7 separate regions of the Homo sapiens genome follow, and regions 2, 3, 4, 5, 6 and 7 are each linked to region 1. The links are contacts of gene promoters, found by promoter capture Hi-C in blood cells and fetal thymus (Javierre and others, 2016). All regions are on one chromosome and are shown on one strand. Each heading gives the region's core, a stretch centred on a gene start or on the middle of the fragment in contact. The rest is flanking DNA. Distances are from core to core; before and after follow the strand shown.

What was found. Contacts are between HindIII fragments. The CHiCAGO score rates a contact against its expected background, and 5 or more counts as called.
Region 2: a fragment that was not itself captured here is called in contact with the fragment with the promoter of PCSK5 in region 1 in 3 of 17 cell types (M1 macrophages, megakaryocytes and M2 macrophages); the score reaches 7.7 in M1 macrophages.
Region 3: a fragment that was not itself captured here is called in contact with the fragment with the promoter of PCSK5 in region 1 in 2 of 17 cell types (M0 macrophages and monocytes); the score reaches 6.3 in M0 macrophages.
Region 4: a fragment that was not itself captured here is called in contact with the fragment with the promoter of PCSK5 in region 1 in 1 of 17 cell types (M2 macrophages); the score reaches 7.2 in M2 macrophages.
Region 5: a contact is called between a fragment that was not itself captured here and the fragment with the promoter of PCSK5 in region 1, in 3 of 17 cell types (M1 macrophages, M0 macrophages and M2 macrophages). The highest score is 7.2, in M1 macrophages.
Region 6: a contact is called between a fragment that was not itself captured here and the fragment with the promoter of PCSK5 in region 1, in 4 of 17 cell types (M2 macrophages, M1 macrophages, monocytes and 1 more). The highest score is 10.5, in M2 macrophages.
Region 7: a fragment that was not itself captured here is called in contact with the fragment with the promoter of PCSK5 in region 1 in 4 of 17 cell types (M1 macrophages, M2 macrophages, M0 macrophages and 1 more); the score reaches 10.6 in M1 macrophages.

What each region holds. Positions count from the first base shown.
Region 1 is chr9:75,888,997-75,892,553 of GRCh38, forward strand. PCSK5 (proprotein convertase subtilisin/kexin type 5) reads left to right here and starts at 1,677. Exons shown (of 38, transcript NM_001372043.1): 1 at 1,677-2,377. The coding sequence starts at 2,186. The HindIII fragment of the contact is 12,342 bases long and covers 1-3,557 here.
Region 2 is chr9:75,213,854-75,217,415 of GRCh38, forward strand. No RefSeq gene overlaps it. Among named protein-coding and RNA genes, the nearest start is that of OSTF1, 130 kb to the left of the region's middle. The HindIII fragment of the contact is 2,003 bases long and covers 1,107-3,109 here.
Region 3 is chr9:75,148,080-75,152,046 of GRCh38, forward strand. No RefSeq gene overlaps it. Among named protein-coding and RNA genes, the nearest start is that of OSTF1, 62 kb to the left of the region's middle. The HindIII fragment of the contact is 536 bases long and covers 1,851-2,386 here.
Region 4 is chr9:75,081,481-75,085,234 of GRCh38, forward strand. It overlaps NMRK1 (nicotinamide riboside kinase 1), which reads right to left. Exons shown (of 9, transcript NM_017881.3): 2 at 1,607-1,670. The coding sequence starts at 1,635. Among named protein-coding and RNA genes, the nearest start is that of NMRK1, 4.8 kb to the right of the region's middle. The HindIII fragment of the contact is 5,297 bases long and covers 1-3,754 here.
Region 5 is chr9:75,166,417-75,170,412 of GRCh38, forward strand. LOC105376090 (a long non-coding RNA gene) reads left to right here. Exons shown (of 2, transcript XR_001746731.3): 2 at 1,749-2,146. Among named protein-coding and RNA genes, the nearest start is that of OSTF1, 80 kb to the left of the region's middle. The HindIII fragment of the contact is 1,872 bases long and covers 337-2,208 here.
Region 6 is chr9:75,239,118-75,243,088 of GRCh38, forward strand. No RefSeq gene overlaps it. Among named protein-coding and RNA genes, the nearest start is that of OSTF1, 150 kb to the left of the region's middle. The HindIII fragment of the contact is 1,877 bases long and covers 406-2,282 here.
Region 7 is chr9:75,194,172-75,197,706 of GRCh38, forward strand. No RefSeq gene overlaps it. Among named protein-coding and RNA genes, the nearest start is that of OSTF1, 110 kb to the left of the region's middle. The HindIII fragment of the contact is 2,673 bases long and covers 720-3,392 here.

The sequences.
Region 1 (3,557 bases), core at 427-2,926:
CTCGGGGAGGCTGAGGCAGGAGAATCGCTTGAATCCGGGAGGCGAAGGCTGCAGTGAGCCAAGATCACACCACTGCACTCCAGCCTGGGCGACAGAGCGAGACTCTGTCTCAAAAATACATACATACATACATACATACATACATACATACATACATACATACATACCTTCAATAATAAACCACATTTACTCTACAGTATTCAGAGATTCTGAATTCCACTAATTTTTTGTGCCTCCCCCTTCCCCTTTCTCCAGTGTACAGCACAATTCATTGCACATGCTAGGTGCTCAAAACAGATGTGTTGAATCAGTCAAATAAATAAACGAATAAAATACATACACTTCTGCACATGTTTTAGTTCTTCTGATCTTCTATTTCTTCAGCTATAATGTGGGGATGATGTTATTTTGTGGGTTTGTTTTCAAGATTAAATAATATAGCATACCTTATACAATATGTAAAATGTCAAATGCTATGCTCAAAGGTACTAGTGGAATTTTAAGTCTGCAGGTATCTTTCAGATTTTAAAAAATCAGTACCAAAAGCTATAGGTGGGATGAGTTAATTAATCTCAAACACATTTAAATTAACAGGAAGAAAGAAATAGGGCATGGTAGGAGGAGAGAAAGGAGGACAGTTAGGGATATAGTGAATACTTTTAAAGTCAGTTGAATTATTTCATACGGGATAATTTTTCTTGTCACAGTAAATCACCCTGTGCCCCACCCCCGCTCCAGGAAGGCAGGGAGGTTGTAAAGGAGAAGCGAGAAGAGGGTTAATTTGAGCTCCCTCCTGCCTGCTGCAGTCACAGTGCATGATAGAGTAATGAAGGTGACGCCGCCACATATCTCATCTGAACTTCCTCTGTGGTCTTTTTCATATTAAAGTCTTTCACTGTTACAGGACTGTGCTTGGAAAAGTTGGGAAACTTTTCCCTTGGTGGAGAAAAAGAAGCCCTCGTCAGACGCAATCCAACAAATGAATGGAGTTATTTCCTTGGCCCAACATGTCCATCCACTAGCACACCAAATATTCATAGAAACATCTTTCCTCACTTCCAAGGCCGGAATTGTACTCTCCCGTGGCGTTGCCTAGTATCGCAGATTTCGAAAGTGAGCAGGCAACAGACTTGGCTTTCGAGCCAATTCTAGGAGTCGATGCGACTTACTGTCCTGTGTGGTAGCTTCTCCCGGGAGCAGAAAGTGTAAAATAAACAGCTGCTGAAAAGCATGAAGAATTAACGAAGTGAAAATCTCGAGTTATTTGTTCGGCAATTGACACGTAAGTGACCTCCTTAAATGCCTAGTTATTTAAGGACGTTTAGAACGAGGATGAATGAATCTTCAGGGCGGTTAATTCGCACCGGCGTGTAAATTTCTTTAGTCTTTCGGGAAGTGGCGGTAAATTCATACAAATCCAGCAGGGAGGGAAGAGAAGGGAGTAAAACCACGATCTCGGAGCGCTCTTCTCAGTCCTTTGGAAAGACTTGCCTTTACTGCCCGGAACCCTGGAGGTTACAGCTGGGCGAACCCGGAGGCGCTAGGACCTCGTCAGCGCCTGGCTGCGGCCGCTTTCAAGAGGGCGGAGGAGGGAGAGGAGGAGGGCGATGTGGGAAAGGAGGGGTGTTAAGGGGGGCGGGGGAAGTCATTTATGCAGAGCAGGAGCTGCTGCCATTGCCACTCAGAATCCTCGCGCGCTGCTCGGAGCCGGAGGGAGCGCTGGGAGCGAGCAAGCGAGCGTTTGGAGCCCGGGCCAGCAGAGGGGGCGCCCGGTCGCTGCCTGTACCGCTCCCGCTGGTCATCTCCGCCGCGCTCGGGGGCCCCGGGAGGAGCGAGACCGAGTCGGAGAGTCCGGGAGCCAAGCCGGGCGAAACCCAACTGCGGAGGACGCCCGCCCCACTCAGCCTCCTCCTGCGTCCGAGCCGGGGAGCATCGCCGAGCGCCCCACGGGCCGGAGAGCTGGGAGCACAGGTCCCGGCAGCCCCAGGGATGGTCTAGGAGCCGGCGTAAGGCTCGCTGCTCTGCTCCCTGCCGGGGCTAGCCGCCTCCTGCCGATCGCCCGGGGCTGCGAGCTGCGGCGGCCCGGGGCTGCTCGCCGGGCGGCGCAGGCCGGAGAAGTTAGTTGTGCGCGCCCTTAGTGCGCGGAACCAGCCAGCGAGCGAGGGAGCAGCGAGGCGCCGGGACCATGGGCTGGGGGAGCCGCTGCTGCTGCCCGGGACGTTTGGACCTGCTGTGCGTGCTGGCGCTGCTCGGGGGCTGCCTGCTCCCCGTGTGTCGGACGCGCGTCTACACCAACCACTGGGCAGTCAAAATCGCCGGGGGCTTCCCGGAGGCCAACCGTATCGCCAGCAAGTACGGATTCATCAACATAGGACAGGTAACGAACTACAGGCTAGCCCAGCCCTCGGCCCTGAAGCCACTGGGGGCTTCTTGTCCCCTCTGCGTGGAACCCCCTCCCCCTCTTCCAGATGTGCTCTAGCAGCTGTTGCCCTAACTCTTGGGCGATGCTCTGTCTCCTGCGCGCGCGCGCGTACGCACACACACACACACACACACACACACACACACCCCAGAGTTGCCGGGTCCGTGTTTTGTTTACTTGTCTTTTCCAAGCCACGCGGGACTGGTAGGGTCTCGGGAAAAATCCAGAGTGCCCCCGTGGTGGCTTCAGAGACGGCTGGACCTTTTGACCTGAAAAGTCGAGTAGCACTAGTAATCTGAGGCAGTCTCAGAGAGGGTGATCGTGGGGAGAGGGGGAAATTAGGTCTTTTGGGGGATAGGGGGTGAGCGCGCCTCTGATGCCTGCGGGGAAGGGAAAGCCTTTCCTGCTCGGACCTGAATTTAGCCCAGAAAGAAGTTTCCTCTTGGGCGAGAGAACCTCTGGCGCTGGAGACTCCGGAGGCGCGGGGACTGGAGCTGGAAGGGAGGAGAAAGGAGGGGGAGGGAAGAGGGGGCCGGCCCCGGTGTGAGTGCAGATTTAGGGGAGACCTCTAGGCTTTCTCGCCTTAAGCGAGGTCCGCGTGGGGGCTCCCGGAAGGGAGTTGTAGTGGGGAGGTGGGAAACTTCCGAAACCGGCTGGCTGGGTTCCGCTCCGGGAAAACGAGGAGTCTTACCCCGGGACGGAAGGTGCCGGGCCGGGAGGTTGCGCCGTGGGGCGAGAGTTGGGCAGGCAGCAGGGGCGCGGGGTTTTTGTGGGGTGCCGCTCTCGGGCTTTTGGCAGAGCTCTCCTGCTAGGGAGAAATGCCCATAAACTAAGGTGATGCTATGAGGATGATTGGAAGCGTAACAGATTTGGAAGTACTCCGGGTTCAGTGGTCTTGGCTTTCTGGTTCTCTTCCCCCGACACCCCTGCGAGAAATGGGGGTAGAGAGGGCTATGAAAGTGGGTCCCAGAAAGTACCCCCCTCCACATACACACCGCAAGCATCTTTGGGGTTGGCCGGAGGGGCGGGCCCTGGCTGGGCTCAGGCGAGAATCCGCTGGAATGGGAGGTGAGGATGATGGATGGCGCCTTTCCAGCAGGCGCGCTTTGGGGACTGCCCGGGGTGCACGCACCCT
Region 2 (3,562 bases), core at 858-3,357, 670 kb before region 1:
CCTCAGAAACTAGTGATATCATGAAGTTGTGCTTTTAATGTGAGAGTCTCAGGTGCCCAATTCTTTCCCTCAATAGTTCACTGTGGCAGACAGTGTTGAATTTCACCGGAGCTCTGAAAACGGTAACAGTTTTCTGTTCTGGTTAACAGCTTGTCACCAACCAACCTTCCCATGTGACTTAGATAAGACTTCTTGTCCACTCTTGACTCTTTCTCATGACAAATAAGATGCACAGATGACTCTCTTGTTTACCTGTGACAAGGCCAGATACACACCCTCCAATTTCACATGCTTTTTCTTATGAATAATTAGATGAATTTTTTGTCCTCCTGTAACTAGCTAGACACAGAGATAAACATTTTCTTTTAAGCTGATTGACCGAGACTTCTCCTGATTGCAAAATCAATCTTGACTGTAAACCACCCCATTTATAACTGTCTACACCTACCTATAAAGGTATAAGACAAAGCCACCCTGCTGGGACACTCTGATCCTCAGATCTGGGGTGCTCCCCATTGCTATAGCCAGAATAAACTCAATTTCTGTGCTTGTTCGGTTCTTGTCTTTAATGAGCCATCTCAGGTCTCATAGATGAATTCCATCTCTCCTGGCCCAAGTGTGTCTGTGCATTTGTACATACATGAACACTCATGTGTGTATGTCAGTATCCTAAAAGAAAGTGTATACATCAATATCCTAAAAGAAACATTGGAACTTACATTGAATATGAGTAGCAAACTTCAAAATTTTATAATAGAAAACTCCCATGCTCAGTGTATATTGGTGCTACCATCATAGATTCAGAAGCATGACAAATGCTGCTTAGAGAAATCTCACCAGTGACTATTGCCATTTAAGATTCATGCTGAGGACCAGGATAGTTTTTTGTCCAGGTTCATTTAGATTTTCTTTCATTCTAGGAAGCTGTATGTAATAAATCTGTTTTTTGTGTTGCTCCCTTCACCTGTTATAGTTAGAACCTGTATATAACCAGAGCACCACGAGGCCAAATCTCTAGCAAGTGCAAATTCAAAGAAGCAGTAATCTGACAAAGTGTAATTGATTGCAAGCAAATTGTAAATGGAAGTTCTCAAAGGACAACAAGAAGCTTCTTAAAACCTATTCTTTTTTTCCCCATCCATCTCTTAATCACCCCAAAACTTTTCAGTTGACTGTTTTCTCCCTCCACTTCTACATACTGAATGACACCATGTAGAATAGTAGTGTTTGCCCTCTCTCATCCTCTGAAGACATTTCTTTCCTTGCTCACTTAGTTTCTAGGCTTTTGAAATGTAGAATTAAGGTGAGTAGGAAATGAAAAAAACAAAATAGGACTGAGGTTTACTCATGGAAGAAAAAAAGAGTAGTGATTAAAGGGAAATGAGTGTGTGTGTGTGTGTACACAATAGAAAATCACAACTTCTATGTAATTCAGTTTACTTAACACAGAATTTTGCATACAGTAAATTCTTAGGAACTATTTGAAACACATTAATGACTTCCAACTGTTTTTTTTTTTTTAAAAAGCAGTGGAACCATGTTTTTTAAAAAAGAAATATTAAGTAGAACTTTAATAAACAAAATAAAACTGAGGTTTGGACAAAGAGCCTGAATATCTGTGTAATCTGCTTCTCCTCCTGGAGAAGACAGTTTGAAAAATAGTTAGAAATTCCAGCTCAATAAAAGTATATGCTATTAATTTTTAAAATTAAGAAACAAATCATCATTGATTTTTTCTTATTATAAAGGCAACATGTTTATTTAGAGGAAATTAAAAATATAAATAACTACTGCATATCTCATAATTTCAGCACCCCAAGATAAACTTTATTAACAATACTGTTAATATTTTCCTGTCCAGTCACCGATTTTTAAATCTGTATCAGTGTTTCAATATATCAGTGTTTTAATATGATGATGCCATGGTTTTTTTGTTTCTGGTTCATAGAAAGAATCATATAACGTCATTAAAGGCTCAAAAATGATCTTACATGCTGTCAAAAACACATTAAACTGTGGTCTCCAGGTTATTTAAAAATTGACTTTCCTTTGAGATTTTTTTCTTAGAGTTTGCTGTTATCTGCCGCATCAAAGGTAATGATCTTTCTCCCCATTTCTTACACCTGAGTAAATTTTCTGGATCCATTGGATTTGGTTCATAAATACCCAAGCAAATGAACAGTCAAAATGGTCTAATTAAACTGCGCTGCATTCCGCTTCCCCTGTCATAAAGGTCAGAACCAGGCTTCAAGTCTGCGAGCGCAGTAGCAGCTGGAAAAAAAATGGCACTATAGGACCTTGAGAGGTCTCCACAATTTTACAAGATGCTGTCACTCTTAACCTACGGATTCTGTTTAGTCAGTTTATTAAGGAAGGCTAGGACACTAATAAAACGGGGCTGAAATGGGGGTTTGAGATTAACTGTGAAATTGATTTATCCTTGTTATGCATGACTCTCATTTGCCCAGATAACTGAGAATTACCTTCTTTTCCTAAGGAAAGAACAGTTCTGGTTTGGAGGAGATAAGAGGGTAAATGAAAGAAGGGACATGGGATTTCTAAGCAACACTCTGCCCCCACTTCTACCTCAAGCAGTTAGGGCAAAAAGAGTCCACTGTCTTTCATAGCAAAGCCAAGTTTCAATCGCTCAGTTGACTTTAAAAAGTGCAAAGCATGTTCTGCTTTATGTTTTAAACTCTTGACCCGTGATCATTATCATGTAAGAACCATATCAATTACCATAACTGTAATTGCATTGCTTTTAATAATATCTAGAAAATCATGCACATTAATAGTGGAGCTTTCTATCTCTGTTGAAGAACAATTACTCCTAAAAATTTATTATACTATGAAAGTAGATGATTTTTATTTCATTTTTTTGTGCAAAAGAAATCCCAGCATGGAAGTACCTTTTAAAAAATTGTTTTTGGGAGAAATACATTAAGTTTTTTCAACAAGATCTTTCAGTGCAGGAGTAATTTCACATTATAGAAATGCAAATTTTTTTCCTTCAGGATTAATGTGCTTATTTCTTGACTGATGATCAGCCTTTTTATCTGGCAGGGGTGGGATAAGCCCAGTTTGACTACTTATATGTTTTGTTTTACAAAGCTTTATAGTTCCTGTGCTATTTTGTTTTGCCTGTAGGCTATAACAGCTTAAAATAATTATTTTAATATCTGGAATTGATAACAGCAGTCTAAAAAATACAGCATTGTTTGCACTATATCTTCACTTAGAAGGTAATGGCTGTAATAAGATTGAACTCTTCTATGAATTAATCACATTGCCTGCTTCATCCTTCCAGTGAATTCTATTTTTTGAACAACGTACAGAGAAACACTGTAAATTTGTAGGTTGTACTTGCTTTTATCTCTTTGGTGGTAATATATTTGTTGAACAGATAGCAACTATCTTTATGGAGGACCACCATGCTAAGGTAATATTTTTAGGGTTTTGGTTACTAAGTGGATTTCTGATTGTTTTATAGTTTCCAAGGTCAACTGCTGATGTACATTTCTTTTCCCATATAAAAATGGGTGCACCAAAATTTCACGAATCA
Region 3 (3,967 bases), core at 869-3,368, 740 kb before region 1:
CAACAAAAGAGGGCATTTTATTCTTAAAATAAATACGTTATTAAATTTGATTTAACCAGTTGTATTTCTTCTTAAACATAAACTTGAAGATATGAAATTCTTCCTGAAATTGTATCTATTCCTATAGATCCTTTAAGATTTTTCTTTAAAATGGGGCTTGTTTCTTAACAAAAAGCTTTTAGAGAACCCTGTAACTTTTTGTTCTTCTATACTTTGGGCTGGGGTAATTAGGATGGATTTCAACTAAAGACTCTTAATTTTTAAAACATGGGCAGAAATAATACAGCTTGTGTGGCTATAGACAATTTTTATCAAAATACCATGTACTTGCTTTAGATATATTATTTGTATATCTGAGGGAAAGAATAGTGGAGGTCTCACTATCATTGTTTTTAACATTATCAAACTTAAGAGAATTTTAGAAAGTTGGACAACTATAGTTTTTTTTTGAAGATGAGGAGAGTGCTTAGCTATGTGCATGAATTTTTGGTAAAACAGGACAACTCATTTAGTTGTGGCTGAAACTCCACTGGAAATTTTTTTGGTTTGTTTCTTGTTTATTCAGCCTGGCTAATCTGAGCTTTCTCAGAGATTGTTTAGTGCTGAACTCAGCAACAAAAATCAGTTCTAGGAATTTGCCACTGCTCTGACTGTGCAGAGGAGAGCTCTGATTATGTTTTGGAAATAACTTCAGAGGTTTTGCTGTAATCTGAGCTTGCTGACAGTCACTGTGGCCTGAACTCCTTTCTAGTGATTGCACCCTTTAAATAGGAAATGCCTTCCAGCTACTTGGGCAGTGCGATACTTGTTTAGTTGTAGGCCCAGGAGCCTCATGCAAAGAAAAATTCTTATCAGAGGTTCCCATTTCAGTTTTCTTTCTGGGCTGTTCTGTTGCACATTTTGTTGTTGTTGGGCTGACATGTATTACAGCATTTCTTTATAAGCCCCCATGGCTCCTCTTTTCAGTAGATTAATTATGTTATTACTCAAAGGGAAATGTTGAACAAAGCAATGGCGACTCCATTTTATTAATCTTAAAAAAAAAAAACTGGAAATAGGCCAGGCACGGTGGCTCACGCCTGTAATCCCAGCACTTTGGGAGGCCGAGGCGGGAGGATCACCTGAGGTCAGGAGTTTGAGACCAGCCTGGCCAACATGGTGAAACCCTGTCTCTACTAGGAAAAAAAAAAAAAAAAAAAAAAACTAGCTGGGCATGGTGGCGGGTGCCTGTAATCCCAACTACTTGGGAGGCTAAGGCAGGAGAATCGCTTGAACCCGGGAGGCGGAGGTTGCAGTGAACGAAGATTGCGCCATTGCACTCCAGCCTGGGCAATGGAGACAGACTCCATCTCAAAAAAAAAAAAAAAAAAAAAAAAAGGAAATAATGCTGAAAACGAAATTTTAGGTAATTTGCAGATAATTTTAAAGATGGAAATGTAATTTTTCCACATAAGCCTTCTTCATAAATGTTTTTTATTGTGTAGAGTTTCTGATTTACTAATTTTCTTATTGTGAGCACTATATTTATCATCTTTGTAAATGATGATTTCTTTTCTGATAGGCTGTGGAACCTAACATTTACATCTGATTATCTGCCTTCCCTATTGACTCAGACTGTGTATTTTTTGTCTTGATTTTTATATTGTAAATATGTATATTGCAGGAAAAGATTGTATAGCCAAACTTTGAAGTGTCCAATTACTAAAAGTTGAGGTTTTAGTGGGAGAAATATTGTAAAAGATTCTGGTATTCCTGTTTGCAAATATAGCTTTGGTGAACAGTTTTCTCATGTGAAGGAAAAATTGCAGACCACAAATTTGTGGCTTCTGTTTCCTTATTTCTCAATAACAAGCTTTTACATCTGCCCCTCCCTTAAAATGACATGAAATTAAATAAAACTACCATTTATGAAATGTCTACTCTTCCAGTGCCTGTGCGAGACATTTTCACAGACATGATGTCATTTGATCTTTGCAGTAACCTTAGGCGAGGAATGTTAATGCCCCAACTTTTTACAGAGACGCTGAGGTTTGAAGAAGTGAAGGAACTGGTTGAAGGTGGACACACGGGTCTGGGGAACCCACGCGCTATTGCCTGCTGCAACAGTCAGATGTCATCATTCACATTCTCTCAGAAAAATCTGCAGAAACAGGACAGCTTCTTTCCAACGGAAGCCCTTGATATAGGCATCTAACAAATTCAGCATATCTGCTAATCAATTCATAATTTATTTAAAATGACCCTAAGCGCTTCCAGAGAAATTTTCACCAAACTTTTAGTTCCCAGTAACCCTAAAGAAATATTTAATGAAGCAGGTTTTACTCCCAAGTTTCCAAAATTTCCTACTCTGTACACATTAGAGTATGAGTAAGTATAAGAGAAGGAAAGCTTAGATCAGCACCTATTCATTTTGCTTTGAGTTTACATTGCTAAGTTCAGCAGTTCTCTCAGAGAGTCTGAGAGCTCCTCACTTCTGTGTAACCATGAAAATAAATGCATCCCTTGGAAGGGTCAGGGGATGTGGTCTTACCTGAGTCTGGGAGCTCGATGTGTACATGGAGGTAAGTAACTTCACAATTCCCAGGCAGTGCTGCTGTGTCTGTCGCCAGTGGCCAGCGGCTTGGGTTTCCCAGCAGGCTCAGCCCTGTGGGCAACTGGGAGCCACAGGGAGGCCAGGTTCCTCGCGGTGCCCGGAAAAGAACACTGAGGAAATCCAAAGGTATACATTAGACAGCCTGACAGGAAGCAGGAAGGAAAGTGGAAGGAATAGACAAGGAGTGAAGAGGCTGAGCCTCAAAGGAAAAATGGTTACCTTTTCTAAATGACCCATAGTTCTGACAGAAATTAGTAGAATGCTTCGAGAAGTGGTGAGGGGTATGGGCTTTGGAATCACACTGTCTGGATTCAAGCCTGATTCTGCTGAGTGACCTGCGACAGGTTACCTAAACACCCAGATTCCCTAGCTGTGCAGTGGAGGAAGTGGTAGTATCTACTGCCTAGAGTTAGAAGGATTAAATAAAATCATATATGCAAATGACTTAGTTCCTGAAAAACTCTACTACTGAGCAGTTGCTCAGTTAATGTTGGGTATAACCATGAACAGGGAAGTCTGCATTAAAACCAGATATGTGTGTTATACAAAGGAGTGTGTCAACACGTTTTTCAGTTTCACCACCAATATTGAAGAGCAGAATTTCCTAAAATACTTTAAAAATGAGTGGAGGACAATGATGTTGCCTTCCAGTCATTTAGGTTTCTTCATATGTGGTAGTAGAGTTTTTCTTTTTCTTCTTCTTTTTTTTTTTTTTTTTTTGAGATGGAGTCTTATTCTGTTGCTAGGCTGGACTGCAGTGATGCGATCTCAGCTCACTGCAACTTCCGCCTCCCAGGTTCAAGCAATTCTCCTGCCTCAGCCTCCCGAGTAGCCAGGACTACAGGTGTGCACCATCACGCCTGGCTAAGTTTTGTATTTTTAGTAGAGACAGGGTTTCACCATGTTAGTCAGGCTGGTCTCGAACTCCTGACCTCAAGTTATCCACCCGCCTTGGCCTCCCAAAGTGCTGGGATTACAGGCGTGAGCCACTGTGCCCGGCCGAGTTTTTCAATATAAATGTACTTTATTTGAGTTACAGAGAAGAGATATATAACTGGAAAAGACCTGGTTATTACTGTTACAGTAATTCAAAGATGAAGTAGGGAGATTGTCTCTGCCACTGTTTCAGTTTTATCCTGTTGCTTTCAAGTGGTTTGATGGGCTTGATAGACCGTGGGTCTGATGTTTGATACATGATGATTTGAAATCAGAAAGGTGTTTGGTGTTACTATCCTGCTCTTACATGACTTCAAAATTCAGACAATACTATTATTCAAATGAATAGACTTTGCACCTTCATAGGTTCCCCTATAAAGTCTAAACTTCAAGAATTTAGTCTCACAGCTTCAATGACAAAAAGAGAATTGAAGACAC
Region 4 (3,754 bases), core at 908-3,407, 810 kb before region 1:
GAAGGCTTTCTTAGGGAGTTATGGATAGTACCTAGTACACAGGACAAGACAGAAGGTAGGTTTCTAGGTATACGGCCCTGTATTGGGACATTGAGAAGAGGGAAATCTTATTTACAGAGATGCCAGATGAAGGCTGGATTGGATCCTGTAGTGGACTTTGTAGTTGCCTCTCCAGGTTCCATGTCTGTTTTCTAGGTCCGGTTGGGACTGCTCCCACTCTCAATTCCAGAACAGAACCCACTGACCTAAACCAATCAGTGTAATCCCACCTCTTTTACCATGGTGGCTGAGTGTATGTGGACCAGGCTTATCCAGCAAAGGGAGACCTATGACCTAGGGGAAGAGAAGCATTTCCCCTTCTGCCCAGTGACAGGCTATGAAGAAACAAGTCACAGGGCTCCTAGTAGATCTTTGTGACCAAAAGGATAAGCCAATTCTAAGATGAACCCAAATGAAAGACACATAAAAGAGAGAAAAACTGCCTTTGGTGATACCACTGAGCTCCTGTATCAAATTTTTCCCGCAGCCTGCTACCCCTGAGGCTAATACATTTCCTTTATTACTTACAGATGGCCTTCATACATCATGATATTCAGATTTAATTCTCAATAACTCGGAACCACTGAATATCATTCATCAGGCAGATAATCAAAATGTTCTGTATGAAGATTAAACTGATAGAGGTGTGTAGGAAAGATTAGAAGGGAAAGATGGGGACTAGGGAATGACAGCCTGTATCAGGATGGTGGCAGTGAGGGTGAGAAGGAAGAGAAACACAAGAGAAGTACTGCAGAGAAAAACTGAACTTTTCTTCTGGTTAGATGGGAGGCAAAGCAGAGTTCTAACATTTAGTTCACTCAATTTTACTTCTGATTGATGACTTACTATGGTAATGTAATACCATAACACAATGATTTCCCCAAAATTACAAACAAAGTAGTCTCAGATATTTTATTAATTGGGTCACAAACAATGTGAATATACTTAGAGTAAAGGTGAACATAATATGGTAGCAAAACAAATAATGTCATTTTCAGTTGATGTTGATGTTTTATTTGCATGCCTGCCTATGGCACCACAGGTAGGATGACCATATAATTTAGAACATGTTTGAGAGAAAGAGAGGTGCATCCAGGGCCACAAGGATTAGCTTGGGCAACATGGGACATAAGGCCACCCAAAACATGGGGGAAAGGAATGGAGGTGAAGGTGTTCTGTATACCAAATGTCTGAAGCTGGGCACAGCTGGAAAGAAACTAAGTTTTCTCCTCCATCGTGATGAAGGAGAATGATATGGGGAATGATAAATCATCCTGAATGAAAGCAGTGCCCAATCAGACCTTGTCTCTGGTGTTAGCTCCACAAAATAAATGGGAAAGTGGGTAAATGTGGTTGACTGACTCTTCTGTTTCTCTGTTTATAGAAAACTCTTCCATCTCTTGTTGGCATTTATGAAGCCAGTGCTCCACTGATATTCCACAGTGGTCTGCTCTTCCCCAGGACTCTGGAATCCTCACTGCTTCTCCGTCCCCCACTCCATCCACACAGAAACACCATTTGGACATCCTCAGTATCTTAAAGAGCTGTTTGTAGCAAAATTACTCACCCACTGATTCCAATGATAAATGTTTTCATAATTAGCTTTGAAAATCACAGCTTCCTAATATTTCCTAAAAGTAAAAAAACAAACAAACAAATCAAATGCATTTCATTTAGATGTCTAGGGAGATAAAAGAATCCTAAATTAGGAGCACCAGCTGAGAGGGGAGGATGACAGTGACCTTTCAGCCCAGCCCCGCATTATCCACATTCCCGCCGCACTGGCTTCCCCTGCTACCACTGAGTGCCAACCACTGGGGTGTGCTCAGGACTGTCAAACAGTTCAACGTCAGGTGACCTGCCGGAGCACTCCCCCTTGAACGTCTGTTTTCTGGGCGTGGAAGAACTGCTAGGCCACAGCGTGGTATATGAAGTTTCATCCTCTCCTTAGCCAGGTTGCCTTCCACCTTCACGATTCAGTCGCCTGGGTATGACTCATTATCAGTGAGGGAGGGACCCCTGTGGGCTGGCCTCTTTCTCCCCTCATGAGACAAGGAAAAAGTCACTGCTGACCAGAGGCAAAAAGAAGCTAATGCCGTTTAAAGATACTGCCCTTATGAGACAAGAAGAAAGTTACTGCTGGCCAGAGGCAAAATGAAGCTAATGCCGTTTAAAGACACTATTTCTTCACCCAAAAGCCTAGGTCTTGGGCCTGGCTAGGTACATTTTTTTTGGAAACAGGCCAGACAGTAAATATTTGACACTATGTGGGCCAAGAGGCAAAATCTAGGTTGTTATGTATGGACTTATATAACAAGAGAAAAAACATTTTCACAATTTTTTTTGATGAAATTCAACATATAATCATAATTTTTTTAACAGGTCTACTAATGACAAGAATGAAATTCCCTTTTATTGGGCTATCATTTCTCTTAATTGGATTTCTGTTGTGCTTTCTACATGAAACTGCAAATGTTCAGGCAGAGGGCCAAGTTAAGCCACCGGCCACTGTTTTGTGGATTTTTGGTTTAGGGGATGGAGGGCAGTTTCATACATGCCTCCCTAACGTTCACTAAAGTAGTCCTTGGTTATTACAATGGGCCATTTTTCTCACTAAGTGAAAAGGTGAAGCACAGCTGGAGGGAATCTTAGAATAGTGGCTCCTGAAGGTCATCCCTGAAGGCCACTCTTCTTCCTTCCTATCTGCTCAGGGGGGTTGCCAGGGACCTAGGCCGTGTAGCCAGGGGCAAGCGGCTGCCTGCCAAGCTGGAGGCTCCCAGCAATGCTCCAGTTTCTATGATCTGTGTCCACACTCTCCCTGGGGAGGGGTTATGCAGAAAAAAGCCTGGTGGGAAGAGGGCTATTGTTGTCTGACTTCTTGGCTTATCTAAATATCCCACATTGAGTACAATTGCTTAAGACTGGGGTCCACTTCCATTAACAAGTCTATGTGAGACAAGAATCAATAATGACTGTGATAAAATAGCAGCAGGGCACTGTGGCTCATGCCTATAATCCCAGCACTTTGGGAGGCCAAGGCAGGCGGATTGCTTGAGCTCAGGAGGTTGAGACCAGCCTGGGCAACATGGCAAAACGCTACCTCTACCAAAAATACAAAAGATTATCCAGGCATGGTGGCATGCTCCTGTAGTCCCAGCTACTTCGGAGGCTGAGGTGGGAGGATTGCTTGAGCCTACAAGGTGGGGGTAGCAGTGAGTGGAGATTGAGCCGCTGCACTCCAGCCTGGGTGGCAGAGTGAGGCCCTGTCTTAAAAAATAAAATAAAATAGCAGACAAGTTGCATATTTAAGTTTCATCCAGAGTTATGTTGTTGAATACACATCTCCATCCAAATTTACAAGATGTATCGAGGGAATGACTGCATACAATGAATATTGTAAAATACATTTTTATGTTGTAATTTTTCTGCTTTTGAATTTTATTTTACCCTATTCTTATTTTTTTGGTATGTCGGTTCAATGCTGCCAATTAGCCTTTTTTTGGGAAGGGAGAGGCTGCTCTTTATCTCACTTTTGTGGTGATAAATGTTCTTTCTCTTACAAAACTATGTTGTCAGAAGATGTTAGTAGAGTGATATCCTCACTTTACCAAATAAAATAAAAATTCATAAAACCTTGTCATTCCTTGCCCCCATTATTTTTGGATAGCTCGCTGAAGCATAAATTCTCAAACTTGGAGAAGTATAGCTTTAGCGA
Region 5 (3,996 bases), core at 23-2,522, 720 kb before region 1:
TTTGTAAGACAGGTCTAGTGGTAGCAAGCTGCCTCATCACTTGTTTATCTAAGAATGTGTTATTTTTATCCATCATTTTTGAAAAATTATTTGTTGGTTATAGAACTCTTAGTTGACAGTTATTTCCTTCATCACTTCACATATGTTATCCCACTGTCTTCTAGCCCAAACAGTTTTTGATAGTTTTTGAAATCAGCTGCTAATTTTGAGTCTCCCTTTTACGTGATGTGCTGCTTCTCTCTTGCTGCTTTTAAGATTATCTCTTTGTCTTTTGACCGTTTGATCATGATGTGTCTTGGTGTGGATCTCAGAGCTCATCTTACTTGGAGTTGGTTAAGCTTATTGGATTTGTAGATTCATGTGTTTCATCAAATTTGGGAAGTTTCAGCCATTATTTGAACAATAATATTGTTCAAATATTATTTTGCCCCTTTCTCTAGCTCCTCCTTTTCAAACTCTTCTGTTGTATATATTAGTCTTCTTGATGGTATCCCACAGGTCCCTTAGACTCTGTTCACTTTTTTTTTTCTTTTACTCAGACTCAGTATTTTCAATTGTCCTATTTTCAAATTTGGCCATTCTTTTTTCTGCCTACTCAAATCTGCTTTTGAACCTCTCTAGTGAATTTTAAAATTTTTTGTTCTTGTACTTTTCAGTCCAAATATTCTGTTTGGTTCCTTTATATAATTTCTACCTATTCATTGATATTCTTATTTTGCCCATATATTATTATCCTGATTTTCTTTTGTTCTGTATCTGTGTTTTCTCTTTGCTCTGTAAGCATACTTAAGACAGTTGTTTTAAAGTTTTTGTCAAGTAAGTCTGAGGTATGGGCTCCCACAGGTACAGTTTCTTTCAGTTTATTTTGTTCCTTTGAATGGGCTACAATTTCCTGTTTCCTGTATGCCTTGTGATTTTTTTTATTGTTGAAGGTTATAGTAGTCTGTTTGTTTAGTATTTTTTCCAAACTATTATTGAAAAGACTATATTTTTTATCATGTGAGGTCATAGAAGTCTTTGTTCCTTAGCTTATATTCAGCTAGTGTTCTGACTGAGATTTCCGTGAGTGCCAGGAACTAAAAACAAAACAAAACAAAGGGAGAGAAAGGGAAAACCACCTCTACTAATCTTTCCAGACTGCCTCTGTATATGTGCATGTGTGCCCTTCCTTCAACAGTTAGCCATCCTCACACTGAGTCTACAGATCAACTCAAGGTGAAAGTGTAGGGTCATCTTAGGTCTTTCTTCTGTATGTGTTTTGTCCTGGGTGTGTACATGGCTTTCTAAATTCCCAGTATACATGACTACTTTTGAATGTCCTGATTTCCTAAAGAAATTTTCCTCAGCCTTTGCCTTGGGCAACTTATTTTATGTTTTGACTATAATCTTTTGTCCCAGGCACCTGAAAGTTGTTAGTTGGGCTTGTAGTATTTGAGAGCATTGCTTTTTTGGCCTGATTTCTGAGGTAGAAAAAGAGATGTTTGCTTTCCATCACTCCTTCAGGTAGTCCCCAGACAGGTTAGAACAGACATACATGATTTGTGGATAATATCTGCTCTGCTCCACTCCCTCTTGAATCAGAGGAAAGCGTCCTACACTAAGAATGCAGGCAGCCCCTGCTTCAAGACCAAATCTGCTATAAAATCACCACAAACTTTCCTAACATTTTGTTGTGCTTTTTTTAATTCAGTTTTTGTTTGCTAGAGTTCTGAAAAAGTTGATTCTGATAGTTTATTCTTGTTTTTTAGAGTTTCTGTGGGAAATGAGAACTGCAGCTGCCAACTTCACCATTTTGCTGATGTCACTAAGTGCAAGTTTGACTTTTCAATTAGACCATCTATGCCTAAAGAGTAAGAGCTGTGGTTAATCTTCATAGTTGTGTTTTTCTCAGCATTTAGTGTACAACTTTATATAAAATTGAATTCAATGTATATTCAACTTGAACAGTGCTGTATTCATCATTTACTGTACATTCTAGTGTTAAGTCATATATACATTCATTCATTCAACAATATTTATTGACCTCTTGTATTCAAGGCATGCCCTAGCTGAGTTATAAGGGTGAATCATAGAGGTAAGATTTCATTCCTAAAGGAGTGAATATCTAAAGAAGGGAAGACAACAATAAATAACATTAACAAAGCAACAGGTTGGTTTGTGTTTCCTTGGAAAGATGGCTCTTTTGGTGCTGACTTCTTAGATAACAGAAGCTTCAGACTAGGCTCTGGGGAAGGATCTGAAAGCAATCCCTCTTCCTGGACTTGGTGGTTTGTGCTTGTAGTCCCAGTGACTCAGGAGGCTGAGGCAGAAGGATCACTTGAGCCCAGTAGTTTTGAGTCCAGTCTTGGCAACATAACAGGACACTGTCTCAAAAAAAAAAAAAAAAAGTAACCCCTCTCCTCTTTCTGACTTCTTCCTGTACCCTTTGGGTTTGGAGAAGAAACTGTGGACATTCAAGGAAGTGCTGAAGAGGGGACAGCTCCTAGTTCTCCAACTCTTTTGTTATTTGTTTGAAAATTCTGAAATCTAACTCTTGGCTCAACTCCCTTGTTTAGCTTTGGCTTTGAGGCGCCTGAAATTTATCCCCCAACTTCCCCTGCAACCTCTACTCTCTAAATTGAGGATTGCTTAATTCCTTATTTAATATTTCAAATGTGGATTGTTGTATCTTGAAAAATATTCTCTGGAGGCATAACATTTAATTAAGTTTCGTCAGGGTAATGGCAAGGAAATTAAATTACATATTGTTTTTGTCAGAGTAGTCAACTAGAGTGCCACTTGCATGTCAAGCCTTTTTCTCAACAAAGGTTTTAAGAATATTTATATGCTTGGAGAAGATTTTTGTTTTTGAGTTGATTGCCTTTCATATTCATATTATTCTACCACAGTCTACAAATAAAGGACAAAACAAAACATCAGAAAGCAAAATTGCCTTGATGAAAAAAAAATATAGTGCTATTTTAATCTTAACCTTAAAGTGTTTACCCCTGTGGGTAATGGTATCATCTGAAGGGAATATAAGTGCCACATGCTTACACTAAGTGAGTAAAAGAGTATCTGTGAAGTTATTCAAAAGGATAGAAGAGATGAAATTTTTTTTTTTTTTTTGGCACACAAACCCCATGAAGGTCAGTTAATAGCAGACAGTTGTGTCATTAAATAATTTTGGATTTAGTACTATTTTTTAGAAAATTCCTGATTTAAATTGAGAAAAAAGAAATAGCCCAGAGCAGTCTGAGCTATGTGAGGTGTGCAACATTTATAAGGCCTGGAGATTCATGAATATGGGACATAGGTCATCCCCCAGCCCCTACCCATGCCCAGGAGCAATTGTTTAAAGGCATTTCGTTCTTTTTTTTTTTTTTCCACGTAGTTTCCTGACTAGCTGACTCACCCATTATCTTCATGTTCCTGGAATTTGTGATACAAAGAAAAATGTATAGCCAATCTAGCTTATGTTATTTTAATGTAAAAACTTGGTAAACAACCTAGGACCTGCCTCTTCATTTTTCCTTTAACAGCCCACTTGTGGCCCGGTGCAATGGCTCATGCCTGTGATCCCAGCACTTCGGGAGGCTGAGGCCAGTGGATCACAAGGTCAAGAGATCGAGACCATTCTGGCCAACACGGTGAAGCCTTGTCTCTACTAAAAATACAAAAATTAGCTGGGCGTGGTGGCTCGTGCCTGTAGTCCCAGCTACTCAGGAGGCTGAGGCAGGAAAATCGCTTGAACCCAGGAGGTGGAGGTTGTAGTAAGCCGAGATCATGCCACTGCACTCCAGCCTTGTGACAGAGTGAGATTCCATCTCAAAAACAAACAAACAAACAAACAAACAAACAAACACCCACTTGTATACTTGTAGCTGCTGCTAATTAGAGCATATATTCTGGGAAACTTGAAACTATTCTCCCCAGTTGCAGTCCTCAAACTTGGTCCAATAAACTCTCTACTTGTATTAATTTTACCTCAGTTTATCCTTTAGGTCAACAAGATGA
Region 6 (3,971 bases), core at 94-2,593, 650 kb before region 1:
AGGTCTGAGGGGAGTGGGTGGACAAGTGGCAGGCAGCTGAAAGAACATTCGAAGAATTGCAAGGAATTTCAACATGGCTTTATTGTCTCTCTGGGTGCAAGTGGGCTGTGGGCACAAGCAAGCCATATGTACAGCATCAGCAAGGTAGTTATACCTTTTACAGACAATAGTGGCTCCAAGCCAAGCGTGAGGGCACTTGAGTGGTTACTTAATGCACCTCACATGGTGTGGTTACATAATGTGCCTCATGTGGCATGGTTACATAACATGTGGAACCGTGCGCCTGCACTCCAAACCCTCTGAGTCATGTTGCATCAGAAGGCTGCCTCGGCCTGTTCCTGACTAAAGCACGGCCATTTTCCTTACACATATGAAGCCACATGGAGAGGGGATAAATCCCATGGAAGCTTTCTCTGGCTTTCTGCCTGCTTAGTATACAATATGCAAGTGGATTGGCGGCTGGCATGGCTTTGCTCAGTTATCCTTTCAGTAGCTCCCATCTTCTCAGTGAAGACCACCTCTCTTTTGTGAATCCTGACTCTTCTGTTCATCTGAATCAAGCCCTGTTCTCTTTCTTCTCTCTTTCCCAAGTGCTTTGTTGTACCATTTAGACACTGTAATACTAATAACACTTCTTTCTGCCCCACTAGACTGTTAAGCCTTCTCAGGCAGTAACCTGCTCACTCATTCATTTGGCTATGTACCTAATACAGTGCTTCTATATAATTGATTCTCACAGAAATTAAAAAAATAAATGATTGAAAAGGGGCTTCTGCTCTCTCCATCTTTTTTTTTTTCTTTTTCAGATGGAGTCTCGTTCTGTCACCCAGGCTGGAGTGCAGTGGCGCGATCTCAGCTCACTGCAAGCTCTGCTTCCTGGGTTCGTGCCATTCTTCTGCCTCAGCCTCCCCAATAGCTGGGACTACAGGCGCCCACCACCACATCTGGCTAATTTTTTGTATTTTTAGTAGAGGCGGGATTTCACCATGTTAGTCAGGATGGTCTCGATCTCCTGACCTCATGATCCGCCCGTCTCGGCCTCCCAAAGTGCTGGGATTACAGGCATGTCTCTCCATCTTCTTGACTTGGATGTTTATAGCTTTTCTTCCACAGTTCTCCAAGTTAAGGTTCAGGTGAGAAGATCTTTGTGGAAGGCAGTTGCAGCAGTGGAAGAGTGGAAGCTGATGCCTTTATCTGTGTTTCACAAGTCGAGGTGGTCAGCAGAGCTGCAGAACTGTTAGGAGAACTGGGGAGTCAAGCTCTGTCACTTTCCTGATCTGAATGACTCTTGAAAGATCTAAAATGAGGGCCTCTCTGAGGTGGGGGAACTGATTGAAGCAGGGCAAAGAAATAAAAATTCTTACCATTTCATGAATAGTGACACAGAGGATCTCACCTCTGTGTCTGGCACTTAGCAGACATGCAGTAAATATTTGTTGGGTGAACTTGTCTGCCATAACCTAAGAAGGCATCAGTTCACAGGGACTTCAAGTAGCTTCTAATGTGCAGCTTGGCTCCATTTCTGTTGCTTTCCTAGTATGACAGAATTACTATTAAGTTGAGATGATTCATTAGTCATTTCCAGAACAGTTTTATTGGGATGACTATTACCATGTATTTAACTTCTCAGATCTCCATAGCATTTTATTGCTGATTATTATTCCACTAATCCATTCAACGGTGATGGAGCTGTATTCAGTCTTAGTAAGGGCCAATCTATTCAGCTAGCTGCGTGTCCAATGAGCCACCAGTTAAAATCCCCACAGAGGCCCTCCCAGATAATACAGGACCTTTAATTAAGTGGTGTTAACAAAGATCACACAGATTTTCCTTTGATGTTTTTATTAGCCAAATATTATAGTGATCGATGATTACCATTGTATAGAAAATATACTAATGAAGATTAAATTAAAATAGGTTTCAAGGTACCAGCATGCAGGAAATCAAGTTCTTTAGAAAAGAAAGAAAAGATGATTGATAGGTATCTGGGATTTTTGTGTTTACATGTATACCTACAGAAACCAATTTAAACAGTGTTCTTTTTGTTTTGGTCTCCTTGAAAGAGTACTATAAACTCTTCTGATCTAAGATGTATTGATATATAGAGAAGGAAGGCAAATATCTATGAAATATAGTTACAAAACAAGGGTTTGGGTTGTTGAAAGTGTTATACGTGCCATTCTATGAAATTAGAATTTTTGATCTACATGATGAGTTAGTGTTATGTGTCAGATGCTTTCTAGCAGCGGCAGCAGAAATGTTTTCTTGGGAGAAGGAATGAAAGCTTATATGGAACCCTGATATATATATATATATAAAATATGTATATAATATAAGAATATATATAATATATAAGAATATATAATATATTATAAGAATATATATAATATATAATATAAGAATATATATAATATATAACAAGAATATATATTATATAAGAATATATTATATATTATAAGAATATATAACATATTATCAGAATATATAATATATAATATAAGAATATATATAATATATAAATATATATGCTATATAAGAGAACTGATTCAGTTGAAAACAGAACTTGATCCTCCCACACCCCCACTTCATAGCTCCTTTGTCTCCACATACCATCCAAGAAGAAGCATATTTCTGGAACTCTTGAGCTCTGTACAGTTTGTAAACTGTTGCCCCATTGAGTAAATTTTAGAGAAGCATTCTCTAGTGTGAAAGTGGACCCCTTTTCCTTCCTGAAAAGACAACTGAGGCAACTTCAGTCACCCTCTTGGCCCCTGAACGTTGTTTATTCAATAGCAGTGGTAATAGCCGATATATCAGCTCAATTTTAAAACATTTCATTTGTTTAATCTTTAGCTTTGATGCTGGGGGGATCCTCAGGAAATATGTTGCTTGTTCTTTTGAAAATCCCAGTAGACAACAGGTGAAAAGTGTAAATAATGAGTCTCAGAACTTGTAATTAGCCCAATAGGGAAGAGCAGCTCAACACATCCAAAATAGAAGACACACCATAGCCGTCACCCTGTCCTGAAAGTATCTCTGCTAGGTTTCGTTTCTTTTTCTTTTCTCCTTTTCTTTTTCTCTTTTTTCCTTTTTCTTTTTCTCTCTTCTCTCTCTCTTTGTCCCTCTCTCTCCTGTCTCTCTCTCTTTCTCTCTTTCTCTTTCTCTCTCTTTATCTCTCTCTGTCTCTGTCTCTCTCTCTCTCTTTCTCTTTCTCTCTCTCTCTCTCTCAATTCCAACATCTAACAAAGTATTCCACACATAGGAGTTATTCAATAAATAGTTGAGACTCAAGAGTAATTTGTAGAATTTTTAGACTTTTGAGACAGATGCAATGAACAACTCTATTTTATATCACCATTTAGCAGAGTAGTCACATTTTGGGAATTTGTATAGAAGAAAGCACTGAAGACGTCTCATGATTCAGGCTGCAGTCTTGCCTTAGAACAAATGAGTTGGGATGACATTAAAGCCCAGAGAAGCTAAATTATTTGCCCAATTTCCTTATCTATAAAATGAGGAAGTTCAGTCTGATGATCTCAGTCCTTTCAACTAGAGCATTTCAAAAGCATCTATGATCTATGTTATTGTCAATTATACTACTGGCTATAATACATGTAGGTGAACTCAGCTGGAGAGACCAAATTGTGATTTGTACTTTCCTACTCCTCATTGTGATCATTAGATTTCCTTTCCAACCATACCAGCCTGAATTCTGTGCTGTAAACTTTCCCTTCATGTAAAAATCTTGCTCAGTTAAAAAGTGAGGCGAGGCATGGTGGCTCAGGCCTGTAATCCCAGCACTTTGGGAGGCTAAGGAGGGTGGATCACTTGAGATCAGGAGTTTGAGACCAGCCTGGCCAACACGGTGAAACCCTGTCTCTACTAAAAAAATCCAAAAAGTAGCTGGATGTGGTGGTGGGTGCCTGTAATCCCAGCTACTCAGGAGACTGAGGCACGAGAATCACTTGAAC
Region 7 (3,535 bases), core at 806-3,305, 690 kb before region 1:
TATCTTTATACCGTAGAGATGGGCTGACACAGAGCAGATTGCAGGTAAAAGAAAAGTAATTTTTAACTTTTGTATTTTTGAAGTTAAGACCAGGCAAACACAAAGTTTGGAAAACCACATGAACAGTTAGAGCCAGTTCTCCCACATAAATACTGGATAATGTCTGCCTGGACTTGGGAGGAGCAGAAGAGAATCAGAGGGAAGGTAAGGTTATGGGTCTTCGATGGGCCAAGTTCTGGGATTTGGAGGGAGGAGGAGAGTGATAGAATCCTCTAGTACATTTCGGGATTTGAGAGCAGGGAAGAACTCCTTGCAGAGGAATTAAAACTCACAAGTAAACAGAAACGTCTCAAAATAATGTTAGGAGGATTTTGCCAAGTGTTGATTTAGGGCTTTTTGCATTTGGATGATTACAGAGGCAGAGAAAAAGTGGGAGGTAGAGGGAGAGGGTGAGAATTAGCACTTCCAAGACTCTTACTACAGTCCAGATATTTCTATCTCAACAATAGTTCAGTAAGGCTTTGGGTCAATATGGATCATTTGGTTATAATTATGTACGGAGTATTATTTTCTCCAAATCACCATAATGACAACCAATATTACATACACAGAGATAACTTTCCTGGAATTTGCCTGATGTCAAAATGTATTTATAGTTGCTCTCAAGCCACTTTACAAATAAACAAAAGAAACCATTTTGAAAGCTTAAAAGTTCACAAAGCTTCATTTCCATTAAAATCTAATCTGAACAAAATATACCAATCTAGTTCCACATAATGTTGAAATGTGACTTCATTTCTAACCTGCCATATAGTCTAATTTAAGAAATAGCATTACACAAATAAAGTATCTCTTTATGGCTTCTAGTAATGAATTCCATCTTCCTGTTTACATCTATCAAAAAGTTATAGCTCGGCTTTGCGTGGTGGCTCACGCCTGTAATCCCAGCACTTTGGGAGGCCGAGGCGGGTGGATCATGAGGTCAGGAGATCGAGACCATCCTGGCTAACACTGTGAAACCCTGTCTCTACTAAAAATACAAAAAACTAGCCGGGTGTGTTGGTGGGCGCCTGTAGTCCCAGCTACTCGGGAGGCTGAGGCAGGAGAATGGTGTGAACCTGGGAGGTGGAGCTTGCAGTGAGCCGAGATCGCGCCGCTGCACTCCAGCCTGGGTGACAGAGGGAGACTCCGTCTCAAAAAAAAAAAAAAAAAAAAAATTACAGCTCAAGAGTAAAAATATTTGCAAATATGGTTTGACCTTATTTCTGCTATTGTTTTACTTCCACTTCTCTCAGAGTTTATTCTGCTAATTCTGCCCTTTACTCTGCACCTGACTCTGCCCTTGCCACTCCACTGAAGGTCCTCTTTTCCAGGTTGCCAGCATCCCCTGCACTGCTGAACCAATGCATCCCTTCTCTGCCTTGACCTAACTTAGTCTCCCATAAACAGCCAACAGTATTGTTCATGCTCTCCCTCTTGATATTTCCACACCCCCATTTATGTTTGTCCACCATCATTTTTGGATTTTTCCCCTTCCACTTTTAAACTTCCCCAAAAGCTCTTCTTTTTCCTCTCCATTCCTTAAACATTGGTGATTTTTTGATGTATGTCCTCAGTCTTTTTTTTTTTCTTTTTATTCATCCTCATTCTCTTCCTGAGAAATATCTTGTTGTTTCAAGGCTTTAATTATCAGCTATATGCTTATTGTTAAATCTACATCTCTGATCTAGCTGCTTCTTCTGAGCCCCAGACTTATGTATCCAACTGCTTACTGGGCATCTCTGCCTGGATGTCCCATAGTCCCTCAAACCCTATATGCCCAGATTGGAACTCATCCTCCCCACAAGCCTGTTTCTCCTGTGCACACCTATCAGTGCCTGGTATTCCAGGTCGCATCTTAACCAAGCTAGAACCCTGGAGGTCCCATTTGACTCCTCTCTCTCTGTGAACCCCCATCCGTATTAGTCTATTTGGCTGCTATGACAAAATATCATGGGCTAGGTGACTTAAACAACAGAAATTTATTTTCTCATAGTTCTGGAAGCTGGAAAGTCTAAGATGAATGTGCTGGTAAATTTAGTTTTTGCTGAGGGCTTTTTTCCTGGTTTACAGATGGCCACCTTTTTAATGTGTCCTTACATGGCGGGCAGAGAGAAAGAGAGAGAGCAAGTTCTCTGGTTTCTCTTCTTATAAGGAAGGACACATCCTATTGGATCAGGGCCCCATACCTATGGCCTCATTTAACCTTAATTGCTTCTTTAGAGGCCCTAGCTCCAAATATAGCCACATAAAAGTTAGGGTTTCAAAATATAAATTTTGTCGGGAGTTGAGAGGGACACAAAGTTTCAGTTCTTAAAACCATCCATCAGTCACCAAGGTCTTTAATTCTTTGTAATAAATAGTGTGTGAAATGCCCACTTCTCTCAACCCCGTGGTCATTAGTTAAGTTCTGACACCATCATCTTTCTTTCACCTGATTTACCACAGCAAGAATCCTTACTGTTTCCCTGCTTCCAGTCTAGCCCTCTCCCATCTAGTCCCTACACTGCAGCTAGGGTACCCTGTCTCAAATGCAAATCTGATCACATTACCCTTCTCTTAAATCTTTTCAACGACTCTCACAATAAAGCCCAGTCCTGTTCATGTGGCTTATGAAGACCTCTGTGACCTGGGCTTTGCTTGTCACCCCAGTCTTACCTGTGACAGCTCCCCACTGTCTTAGTCTGTTTTGTGTTGCTGTAAATGAATACCTGAAGCTGGGCTGTTGATAAAGAAAAAAGGATCATTTGGCTTATGGTTCCAATGACTGGAAAGTTCAAGATTGGGCGTCTGCAATGGGTGAGGGCCACAGGCTGCTTCCACTTATGGTGTAAGGGGAAGGGGAGTCGGTGTGTGCGGATATCACATGCTGAGAGAGGGGACAAGCAAGAGAAGTGGGAGGCGCCAGCTCTTTTTAACAACCAATGTTTGAGGGAATTAATAGAATGAGAACTCACTCACCCTCACCCCCCGTGGGGGGCATTAATGTATTCATGCAGGATCCATCTCCATGACCCAAACATCTTCCATTAGGCCCCACCTCCCAATATGGCCACACTGGGGATTAAATTTCAACATAAGGCTTAGAGGGGACAAACAAACATCCAAACTATAGCACCCACCTTGTGCTCAGTGCTCCAGGCTTAAGAAGCATCCACTTTCCCCAAGGAACTATATTTTTTCTCTTGCACGTCTTTAAGAACTTACTGTTTTTTTCCTGCAATTGTGTTCTGCTCCTTCTCCCTCCCTCCTTTCCTTTCTTTTTCCCTGTCTCCTCCCCAGCATCTGAAGAGCCTGGCTAATGTTTCCTCATCTCTCAGGTCCCAGCGTTGTCAACACCACTTTCTCCCAGAAGCTTTTCCTACCCTCTAAGGTTGAGCGGGTGTCCTTCCTCCAGAGGCTCCTTTGCTTACTCATTTCTTCTTACTGTGTCCCAGAGTCTAGCACAGAGCTTGGCACAAAGCCAGCTTTCACTAATTAGAAATGGATGAATACA